Regions from separate parts of the Homo sapiens genome. Here region 1 is linked to region 2. Evidence: promoter capture Hi-C in 16 types of primary human blood cells and fetal thymus (Javierre and others, 2016). All regions are on one chromosome and are shown on one strand. Each heading gives the region's core, a stretch centred on a gene start or on the middle of the fragment in contact. The rest is flanking DNA. Distances are from core to core; before and after follow the strand shown. Region 1 overlaps EMG1 (EMG1 N1-specific pseudouridine methyltransferase). Region 2 holds the start of TPI1 (triosephosphate isomerase 1).

The links. The method cuts DNA at HindIII sites, captures the fragments that hold promoters and counts their contacts. A CHiCAGO score of 5 or more calls a contact.
Region 1: a fragment that was not itself captured here is called in contact with the fragment with the promoter of TPI1 in region 2 in 6 of 17 cell types (total CD8 T cells, naive CD4 T cells, activated CD4 T cells and 3 more); the score reaches 7.6 in total CD8 T cells.

The regions. Positions count from the first base shown.
Region 1 is chr12:6,973,115-6,975,968 of GRCh38, reverse strand. EMG1 (EMG1 N1-specific pseudouridine methyltransferase) reads right to left here. Exons shown (of 6, transcript NM_006331.8): 2 at 1,529-1,630; 3 at 1,276-1,417; 4 at 821-879; 5 at 591-740; 6 at 1-273. The coding sequence ends at 160. Among named protein-coding and RNA genes, the nearest start is that of EMG1, 3.6 kb to the right of the region's middle. The HindIII fragment of the contact is 838 bases long and covers 832-1,669 here.
Region 2 is chr12:6,863,939-6,870,977 of GRCh38, reverse strand. TPI1 (triosephosphate isomerase 1) reads right to left here and starts at 3,447. Exons shown (of 7, transcript NM_000365.6): 1 at 3,297-3,447; 2 at 1,991-2,114; 3 at 1,795-1,879; 4 at 1,588-1,720; 5 at 1,205-1,290; 6 at 842-929; 7 at 30-713. The coding sequence starts at 3,411. The coding sequence ends at 595. It overlaps USP5 (ubiquitin specific peptidase 5), which reads right to left. Exons shown (of 20, transcript NM_001098536.2): 16 at 7,005-7,039; 17 at 6,783-6,928; 18 at 6,103-6,256; 19 at 5,730-5,814; 20 at 4,346-4,994. The coding sequence ends at 4,901. It overlaps SPSB2 (splA/ryanodine receptor domain and SOCS box containing 2), which reads left to right. Exons shown (of 3, transcript NM_032641.4): 3 at 1-43. RefSeq lists enhancers at 1-257, 3,870-4,531, 4,532-5,194 and silencers at 2,841-3,280, 3,551-3,600. The HindIII fragment of the contact is 21,039 bases long and covers 1-7,039 here.

The sequences.
Region 1 (2,854 bases), core at 1-2,500, 110 kb before region 2:
ACAGTATTCATAGGATAAACAAATAGCAAATGTACAGCCTTGGCTTCCCCAAACTCCACAGTCTCAGTGCAGAAAGATCATCTTCCAGCAGTCAGCTCAGACCAGGGTCAAAGGATGTGACATCAACAGTTTCTGGTTTCAGAACAGGTTCTACTACTGTCAAATGACCCCCCATACTTCCTCAAAGGCTGTGGTAAGTTTTGCACAGGTGAGGGCAGCAGAAAGGGGGTAGTTACTGATGGACACCATCTTCTCTGTATACTCCACACTGACCTAAGAAAAGAACAGTTTTGTCAGCCAACTCTGTCACTCAGTAGCTGTTTCAGCCCTTCTTTAGGGCAGGAAAACTATGGCTGAGCTAGTATTTCAGCTGTGCTGTTGAATATCAAATCCCTACAAAGGATGAAGAAGGTCCTAACTGTGACTTCCAATTATGGCAGCAGCCCTCAAAGGATGTGCCCTGGGGCAGGGTGTGGAACTGTCATGTGTCTTCTAGCTCATTGTAAGCATTGTTAAAATGCCTACTGCTCTGGGAATTCTATACTAAGTTCAGCTCTACCAAGAATTTCAGGGTTGAGCCCAGACCTTACCTTGCCATGGGCAAAGGCCCCTACCACAAAAACAATAGGATCACTGCTGGGCACCAGCTCACGCACATCACTGACAACCGGGATGGAAAAAGAAGTGCCAACTTTCATACATCCAACTGGAAAGTGATCTGATACTGGATTCTTAATTACCTAAAGTAAAAAAGAGAGAAAAGTCAGCCCCAGAAACATTCCCAGAACCAGCCTTCAACTAACAGGTTTCAATACCTCACCTTCAAAAGCTTCTGGGGGCCATCAGCTGCTCGAACACTGAGCTTGTGTAAAAGTTGAACTAGAAGGGGGAAAAAAGAGTTCAGAGCTAGATGGAGACCACAGTCCTTCTGTCCAGTCATCGAACAAGGAAAACCCCATGGATAAGATGAGTTCCCTGTGTGCTTTATATCTAGACTGGACTCCTGAAATGTTAGGAACAAACAGTTGCCAAGCATATGGCTAGCTGTACAGTGATGGGTTCAGACTCCCTCTTTCACTCAGCCAGGAAGCTACTGCAAGAACAGGAGTGGAGTTTCCACAAACATAGAAAAATAATAACAGTCCTTGTCCTGGTATTAATCATGTTGTTCTCCCATTTTCTCGCTTAAAAATCCACATTTAGTTCTCCCTTTTCCTCTTCCTCCCTTCTTCCCTACTGACAAGTTCATTCTAACTTTGTTCTAAGGCTTCTTACCCATGAGGCCACAAAAGCGGTCAAAGGTTCTGGGAATTCGGGTCTGGGGATTCACTTCAATCAGAACATTCTTCTGTGTATGGATATAAACCTGTAGCAAGCCAGCTCGGTTCAGGGGACTATCCATCAGCATCAGCAAACTCTGAGCAAAGCAGAAACCGAGACATGGTTAAGGCTGAAGAGAGGCAGCACTCAGCTGCCAACCCTTCCATACAGAGGCTCAAAGGGTTGTGAGCACTGTCCCTGGAGTTACCTGGTGGGTGATATCTGGCCGCGCTTCCCCAGGGTCCCGTCCATTCTTCAACAATATAGACTTGTGCTTGTCACAGTTGAGTAGCTCATATGTCTTCCCTACCTGAAGAACAGGGAACATGACGAGAGAACAGCATAAGCTTCTGTTACCTAGCCCCGTGGTTCTTCAAGTGTGGTCCCCAAACTACCAGCAGCAGCTGCACCTGGAAACTTGTTAGGCAAATTCTCAGGCCCACCCTAGACCTACTAAACCAGGAACACTGGGGGTGGAGCCCAGCAAGCCCTTCGGGGGATTACTGTGCAGCCTTATTTGCACTCCCCAGTGAATGGTCTGAGAGGGAAACAGGAGGAAGGGCACAACCTGTGACTTCACATTATCTACTAATACACTGGATTTAATTAAAAAACCTGTGGCTGTTAGGCAAGGCCAATGAGACATCCTGGAACTAGGCAGGAGTTAGTAGTTAGCAAGGCTGAATGCTGTGTTTATTACAGGAGCAGTAAGTAGGTACTGTGCAAAATATCGAGTCACCACCCTCAGTTTGCGTACACCAAACATGCACTAAGTGAAGAGCTGCAAATCTGAACAAGAAATGTGAAGGCCGGGCGTGGTGGCTCACGCCTGTAATCCCAGCACTTTGGGAGGCCGAGGCGGGCAGATCACAAGGTCAGGAGATTGAGACCATCGTGGCTAACACGGTGAAACCCCATCTCTACTAAAAATATAAAAAATTAGCCGGGCATGGTGGCAGGCGCCTGTAGTCCCAGCTACTTGGGAGGCAGAGGCAGGAGAATGGCATGAACCCAGGAGGCGGAGCTTGCAGCGCCACTGCACTCCAGCCCGGGCAACAGAGCGAGACTCCATCTCAAAAAAAAGAAATGTGAAAACTAATGATGCAGGAGGCAGTTTAATCAAAGAAAACTCTCAGAAGTAAAAGGAAGAGGGGTTATTCCCAGTTTTAAGACGGGCATGGGGGCAGATGCAGTGGCTCACGGCTGTAATCCCAGCACTCTGGGAGGCCAAGGCAGGCAAATCACTTAAGGTCAGGAGTTCAAGACCAGCCTGGGCAACATGGCGAAACCCCATCTCTACTAAAAATACAAAAATTAGCTGGGCATGGTGGCACATGCCTGTAGTCCTAGCTACTTGGGAGGCTAAGGTGGGAGGATGGCTTGAGCCCAGGAGACAGAGATTGCAGTGAGCCAAGACTGTACCACTGCACTCCAGCAAGACCCTGTCTCAAAAAAAAGAAAAAAGAAAGACTGGCATGAGCAAAGGTACAGATGGAATCAAGACAAAGTAGCCAGGTGTGGTGGCTTATGCCTG
Region 2 (7,039 bases), core at 2,198-4,697:
ACATTTTTTCAAGTAAAAATAGTAAGAGATGTTGTTATAGAAACCTGTTCTTGTTTTTTTTTTTTTCTTGCACAAATGATCATTTATATAGCTGCCTCAAAAAGGAAGATTATCTGGGCAAGTCCAGTGAAGGCAGACAAACCACAAGACCTAGTGCCAGGTTTATTCCCTCACATGGGTGGTTCACATACACAGCACAGAGGCACGGGCACCATGGGAGAGGGCAGCACTCCTGCCTTCTGAGGGGATCTTGGCCTCACGGTGTAAGAAGGGAGAGGATGGTTTCTCTTCTGCCCTCACTAGGGCCTAGGGAACCCAGGAGCAAATCCCACCACGCCTTCCATCTCTCAGCCAAGGAGAAGCCACCTTGGTGACGTTTAGTTCCAACCATTATAGTAAGTGGAGAAGGGATTGGCCTGGTCCCAACCATTACAGGGTGAAGATATAAACAGTAAAGGAAGATACAGTTTGGATGAGGCCACAGGAAGGAGCAGATGACACCATCAGAAGCATATGCAGGGAAAGGGCAGTTACTGGGCTTCTGGGCTGCTTAGTCCCTGGCTTGGCAGGAAGGGTAGGGAAGATGGATGGGGCTCATTGTTTGGCATTGATGATGTCCACGAATTCGGGCTTGAGGGAAGCACCACCCACAAGGAAGCCATCCACATCAGGCTGGCTGGCCAGCTCCTTGCAGGTTGCCCCAGTCACAGAGCCTGGGAAGGGAGCAGAACAAGGGCTTGGTCAAGAATGGGATGAGTCTGCCCCATCCCCACCTCCATGTCCGAGGGCTCAGTCTAGTCCTCAGCCCACTCCACCTCAGCCGGGAACCAAAGCCACTCACCTCCATAAATGATACGGGTGCTCTGAGCCACCGCATCAGAGACGTTGGACTTCAGCCATCCTCGGAGCTTCTCGTGTACTTCCTGGGCCTAGAACAAGAAGCTGGCCTAAGTAAGACCTTTTCTGCCTCTCTAAGAGGAAAAATCACTGGCACCAGTGGACACTTAGTGTGGTTTCTGACTGAGTCAGAGTACCAGGGCTCTGATCCAAGCCAGGCCCTGGACTGGATGCCCTTGGACAAGTCACTGTCTCTGGGTTCAAGGTCTCTGTGTCTTTGAAATAAGGGGTTGCCCCATGTGGGCTGTGTCTGTCCAAACCTATTGAGGCAGGCTGGGATGAGGGCAGGGCTCCTGGGCCCGGTTACCTGTTGGGGTGTTGCAGTCTTGCCAGTACCAATGGCCCACACAGGCTCATAGGCCAGGACGACCTTGCTCCAGTCCTTCACGTTATCTGCAGGGCAGAGATACAGATGGAGGGAAGGGTGAACAAGAAAGAGCTCTCCAGCCAGGTTCTCCGGAGTACGAAGAACGGTGGCCTACTGCCCCCTAGTGGACATTGGGGGATTTCCAGGTGGCATCTACCTTGGGGCTGGAGAAGTCATAGGCCCCAAGCAAAGATTGTCACTCCCCCTCCCCTTTTTCCTTTTCTGGATCAGCATGGGGACCAAGACAGGCTCCAGGGCCTGACCCTACCCTCTGAGTCTCTGTGGCCCTGGATAGGCTCAAAGGTCCCTTTCTCCAGAGATACCTGCGATGACCTTTGTCTGCTCGAAAACAACCTTCTCAGTGATGCCAGCTTCCCTTTCATCTAGCTTCTCCCCAATGCAGGCGATTACTCCGAGTCCCTCTGCCAGAGCATGGGCCACTTTCTGCCCAATCAGCTGTTGAGAAACAGACTTGGTGAGACATCCTTCTTGGAAAAAGACATCCCTTATCTTCTCTCTTGGCTACTAACCTCATCTGACTCCCCAAAGACATGCCTTCTCTCTGAGTGCCCCAGGACCACCCACGTGGCTCCGCAGTCTTTGATCATGCCAGGGCTAAAGGAAGAGATGAAGCCAAGGTTCAGCAGGGAGCCCACCCTGTGGCTTTCCCCTCAACGAGGAAAGTGAGGGAAGGGTCCCACACACCCCTCTCCACCTCGATCTCACCTGATCTCCCCAGTAAAAGCCCCATTAGTCACTTTGTAGCAGTTCTGCGCAGCCACAGCAATCTTGGGATCTAGCTTCTGCCGGGCGAAGTCGATATAGGCAGTAGGGGGAGCACAAACCACCTCTGAGGACAAGATGGTACCACAGGGGGATGAGACTAAAGAAAGCCTTCATTCCCCACAATTCCTAACCAGTGCCCTGGAGCCCCCCAGCCCTCACCCTCTTCTTCTTGGTTCTGCTCTCCCCCTTTTCACCCCAGCAAGATGACCTTTGTCCATTTTCCAGCCCAGGCTGGGTCTGCACTCAACTCGAAGAGCCTTCCAGATACCCCTGAGAGGCCACGGCCCTCACCCTGCCCTCTGCTCTTTTAACAGCTGGGGCTCCAATTTCCTCGAGCTATTCTCGGCATAGGCACCTCACAGACTCAGCATTCTCCAGGGAGCAACCCTGCTTCCCTTCTAAAATAGCCCATCCTCACCTCCCCTTTGCAAGGCAAGGATTTGTAGCAAAAGGAGAGGGGCCAACTCCTGGGGTTTGTATTGAGGCCTCTGGGGAATGAACGAGAAGGGGATGCCTCTTTGGATCAGGCCCGCGGCTCTCCGATTTCGGTGGAGGGAGGAAGGAGGATGGAGGAGAGCATCCTTTGCCCGTGGGTGGCAGAGACCTAACTGACTCAGAGGCCTTGCGCTTTGCTGTTTCCAGGTTGGGGAAAGCGGTAGGATGGCTCCTCACTCCCAAATCGCTCAGCCTGTTTGGCACGGGCTCGGTCCCTTCCGTGGAAGGCGGGAGTCGTTCAGGTTGCCGAAGGGAAGGGGTCAGATCTGGGGCTCAGGGAGCCCGAGCAGCTCGGCGCGGGGACGCGGACGCCGGCGAGGAAGGGGAGGAGTCTGGGGCTACGTGCGGCGGCGCACGGCGCGGGAGGCCAGGGCGCAGGGAGCGGGAAGCCCACGCGGCCCAGCCTCCCCCGGTCTCCCGCAGAGCCTCGGGCTCCGCTCCTAACCCCGTCGCCTGGCGGGCACAGCCCCAGTGCGCGCCCCGGGGCCACCTTCCTCCAGGAGACCCAAAACGTCCTTACCTGCCCCATAGTCCAAGGGGCATCATGTGCTCCGCCCTGCCCCCTCGACGCACCGACGGGGCTGCGGCTGCGAGGCCCCTGCCCGGACCCCAGCGGCCCTCGTCCCACAGCCCTGCATCAGGTCCGCGCGGATACCGGCCTCGGGGCCTCGGGGCCTCGGGAGAGGGCGCTGCCACTCCTGCCCCGGCCCCGGCCCCGGCCCGGCCAGACCCCTCCTCGGCGAGGGCTTACCGGTGTCGGCCGGCACCTTGGCCGCGTTCAGAGTGCCGATGAGCTCCCCCAGACTCTGCTTCCGCCCGTTCATCTTCCAGTTTCCCCCAACGAAGAACTTCCTGGAGGGCGCCATGGCGCTGGAGCCGAGGCGCTGAAGGTCAGTGTCTGCGCGCAGTCGCGGCCACTGCCCACTTATATAGAGCGCCGCGAAGTGGAACTCCGCCTCCTCGCCGTCCTCCGCCATGGCCCGCCCAGTCCCCCGGAGCCCTGCCCCCCGCCCGCCCTCCTGCCGCCGCCCCGGCCGCCGCCCGATGATGCACTGTTCCGACGTTCCCCCTTCTTGTGGCAACGTTCTAGGAGAGTCGGGGGCTCGGTCGCCTCCGCCTCGATTGCGGGGCTTTCGGGACAAGGCGAGACCTGTGAGCTCCGGCGCTCAGGGGAACCCTCGCTTGGCGACTTGAGTCCCCCACGGGGCCAGAAGTGGTTTTCAAGCGGAACTAGCTGGTGGCAACTTGGCCGTAGCCCAGATCGCCCACTGGGGCAGAGAGGGCCCCTCTCCAACTGTGGGATAGACAACCTCCTTCGCCCATCGGAGCAGCTCATGCCCGACTGCTGAGCAGGCACCCTTGTACCCAGGGAGTCTACCTGAGTGAAAACTTGCGGGACAAATGCAGGGTTCACAGCGGGAGGGGCAGCCCACACAGGCATAGGCCGCCAGGATCATCCCAACCCTCGCCCCGGCTGGCAAGGCCTGGCAGGAACTGCAGGGACTGAGTCCCAGCCTGAAGCCAGCTAGCCAGTTAGGGACATTTGGGAAATCCTCCACTCCTGTGTGAATAAAGAGAGGGAAGGGTTCTTCACTCCATCTTTCCTTGGCTTTGTGTCGGCATTTAGTCACTCTACTCCACCTCCCCACCCAACCCCAATTTTCCTAGAGCTCTAGAACCAGTGAAAAGTGGAGACTTGACTTTGGCAGGGAGGCGGCCAGAGTTAGGAGTTTTCTTAAGCGCCCTCCTGCTAACCCCAGGAAGGTAAGCCTCTCCCCCAAGGTATCAAACAGGACACAATTTAGCCGTTGTACTTTTATTCACATCGTGTATTTTGGCATTTTCCAGAGAAGGACAAGGAAGAGACAGGGTGGGGGAAAGACTGAGGCAGGAGGGCAAGTCGGGGGGTCCCTATTTCCCTCACATCCCTCCTTGACCAACCACACAGGGGCAAACAAAGGGGGAGGGGAGGCACAGGTGATCGCTCCACTGGGAGAGGATGCACAAAGCTACACCCACGCGCACAAACGAGACCCCTCCCTCCACACCAGGGGGCTGGGCGGGGCGACACAGAGAAGCAGAGCACTGTGGATTCCGGGGGCAGGGGAAGCAACAAAGTCTCCTTACAGACAGGTGGCCGGCCCCTCCCGTCCCCGTCCTGCTCCATCCCCAGAGTCTATCGCTGCCCCTCTGCTCTGCCCAGCCATTCTCCCACGGCCTCCAGCTTCTTCCCTGCTGCCGGGGACAAAAGGAAAAAGGGTACAGAGCAGAGGGGCTGAAGTCCATCCCTCAGCCCCTCTCCCTCATGCCAGGTGGTCTTCCCCTGCCCTCATTGGTAAGGGGTGAGGCAGGCTCTTAGCTGGCCACTCTCTGGTAGAAGTAGATGTAGCCCAGGTCCTTGGGCGGCTTCTCGGAGGCACACACTTTCTGGTCATTGTAGATCACCCATCTGGGGAAGTGGGGAAAACAGAAAAGGATGAACAAACTGGGCATTCAAAGTGGCATCATGTAGTCTCTCAGACATGGCCCCTGGAAGTGCTCTCCACACTCTCTGCCCATACCCCAAATCCACAGCCCAGCCACCATGTGCCTTAAGGGAGCTTCACAACCTCACAAGGGTCACGGACCCTATTATGTCTTCAGATCCTCCAGTACCTTTACAACCACCCTCCACCCATTCCAGGGAGGCAGGGGGTTGGTAAACTTTTTCTGGCAAGGGCCAGATAGTATTTGAGGTTCTGCAGGCTCTCTCTCTGGTCTCTGACACAACGACTCAACTTTCCTGCCGCAGCGTGAAAACAGGCACAAACAACACATAAACAAGTGTGTCCAGGTTCCAGTGAAAATTTATTTACAAAGGCAGGGGGCCTGGCCAGGCACGGTAGCTCATGCCTGTAATCCTAGCACTTTGGGAGGCCGAGGCAGAAGGATCACTTGAGCTCAGGAGTTCAAGACCAGCCTGGGCAACATAGTGAGATCCCATCTCTATTTAAAAAAAAAGCTGGTGGCCAGATCCAACCCTTGGGCCAATCACTGCTGCAAGACCTTCTGTCACTCTCTGGCACTTTATGTCCCCATCAGGCAGTCCCTTCACCTTCTCCCATAGCTATCCCAAGGACTTCCAAATGGCCCTCCTCATTCCCACCACCATTCTCCATTCAAAACGCATGTGGCCAGCACTCACCTGCCTTCTTTCTTGATGTGGCAGACGTAGTGACCACACATGGTAGAGGTGCCCATGTGACTAATGAAGGCAAAGAGCTGATACTCTAGGAAAGGAGAGAGGGGGTCAGAGAAGGAAACAGAAGAGGAATGCTTGAGTGATGGCCCAAAGATCCAGACAACAGCTCAGACTCAGGACAGGAGTTTCAGGGAATGTGAGGCAGGTACTGGGCCAGAGCCTGTCTCCATGTCAGAGAACCCCACCCTCAGATGCCACGTTGAGGTGGAAAGAAGCCCCTGACTCCTGAGGAGGGCAGAGCTGCCTGAATGAGGGATCTGGTGTAGTAGACTGACCAGATTCCACCAGGCCTGTCCTGCTTCCTGGGGATACTCACTTCCAGGACCATCCCGGACTTTAGGTCCCACTGGCACAGACTCAGAGATGGAGTCGGCAGCTGAGCGGCCCTCTGAGATGTCCATGGCAGCTTCAGCATCCAGGTCGTCAATGTGACTGAAGATCCAGTCCACAGCCCGTTCTAAACTATTGTTCTTGGAGAGGAAGGAAGCATTACTTTTTTTCTTGAGACGGAGTCTTGCTCTGTCGCCCAGGCTGGAGTGCAGTGGCGCGATCTCGGCTCACTGCAAGCTCCGCCTCCCGGGTTCACGCCTTTCTCCTGCCTCAGCCTCCCAAGTAGCTGGGACTACAGACGCCCACCACCACGCTTGGTTAATTTTTTGTATTTTTCGTAGAGACGGGGTTTCACCGTGTTAGCCAGGATGGTCTTGATCTGCTGACCGCGTGATCCGCCCACCTCACCCTCCCAAAGTGCTGGGATTACAGGCGTGAGCCACCGCGCCCGGCCAAACAGAAGCATTACATTTTTAACAAGTTCTGGGGCAAAAAACCCAGCAGTGAACGCAGGCTTCAGCTCCTTCATCGCAGCCACAAAAGAGTGGTGCCCAACCTCGGCCAGACCACACCTGTTGTCTTTGGTCTTGCTCAAGAAGGATGGCCCCTCATTCCCACCCCCTTCTTCCCCACTGGCCCCATGTCCTTAGCTGGGGCAGCCCATACCGTGGCCCGCAGCGCTTTCAAGGCCTGGTCCCGGGAGAAGCCCATGGAGACAATGGTGGTCACACAGTCCTCAGGAGGGGGGTCGGCTGCTGCGCTTGTGGAGCCCGGCCCACTAGAGCCAGGCAGGATGAGGGGGTTTGCAAAATCTGTGGATGTGAAGGGGTTGATGTGTTTGGGGGAGGATGGAGGCCCTGCCCCACCCTGCTCCCCACCCCAGCCTACCTGGATCATCCATGTGTGACATGACCCAGTTCATG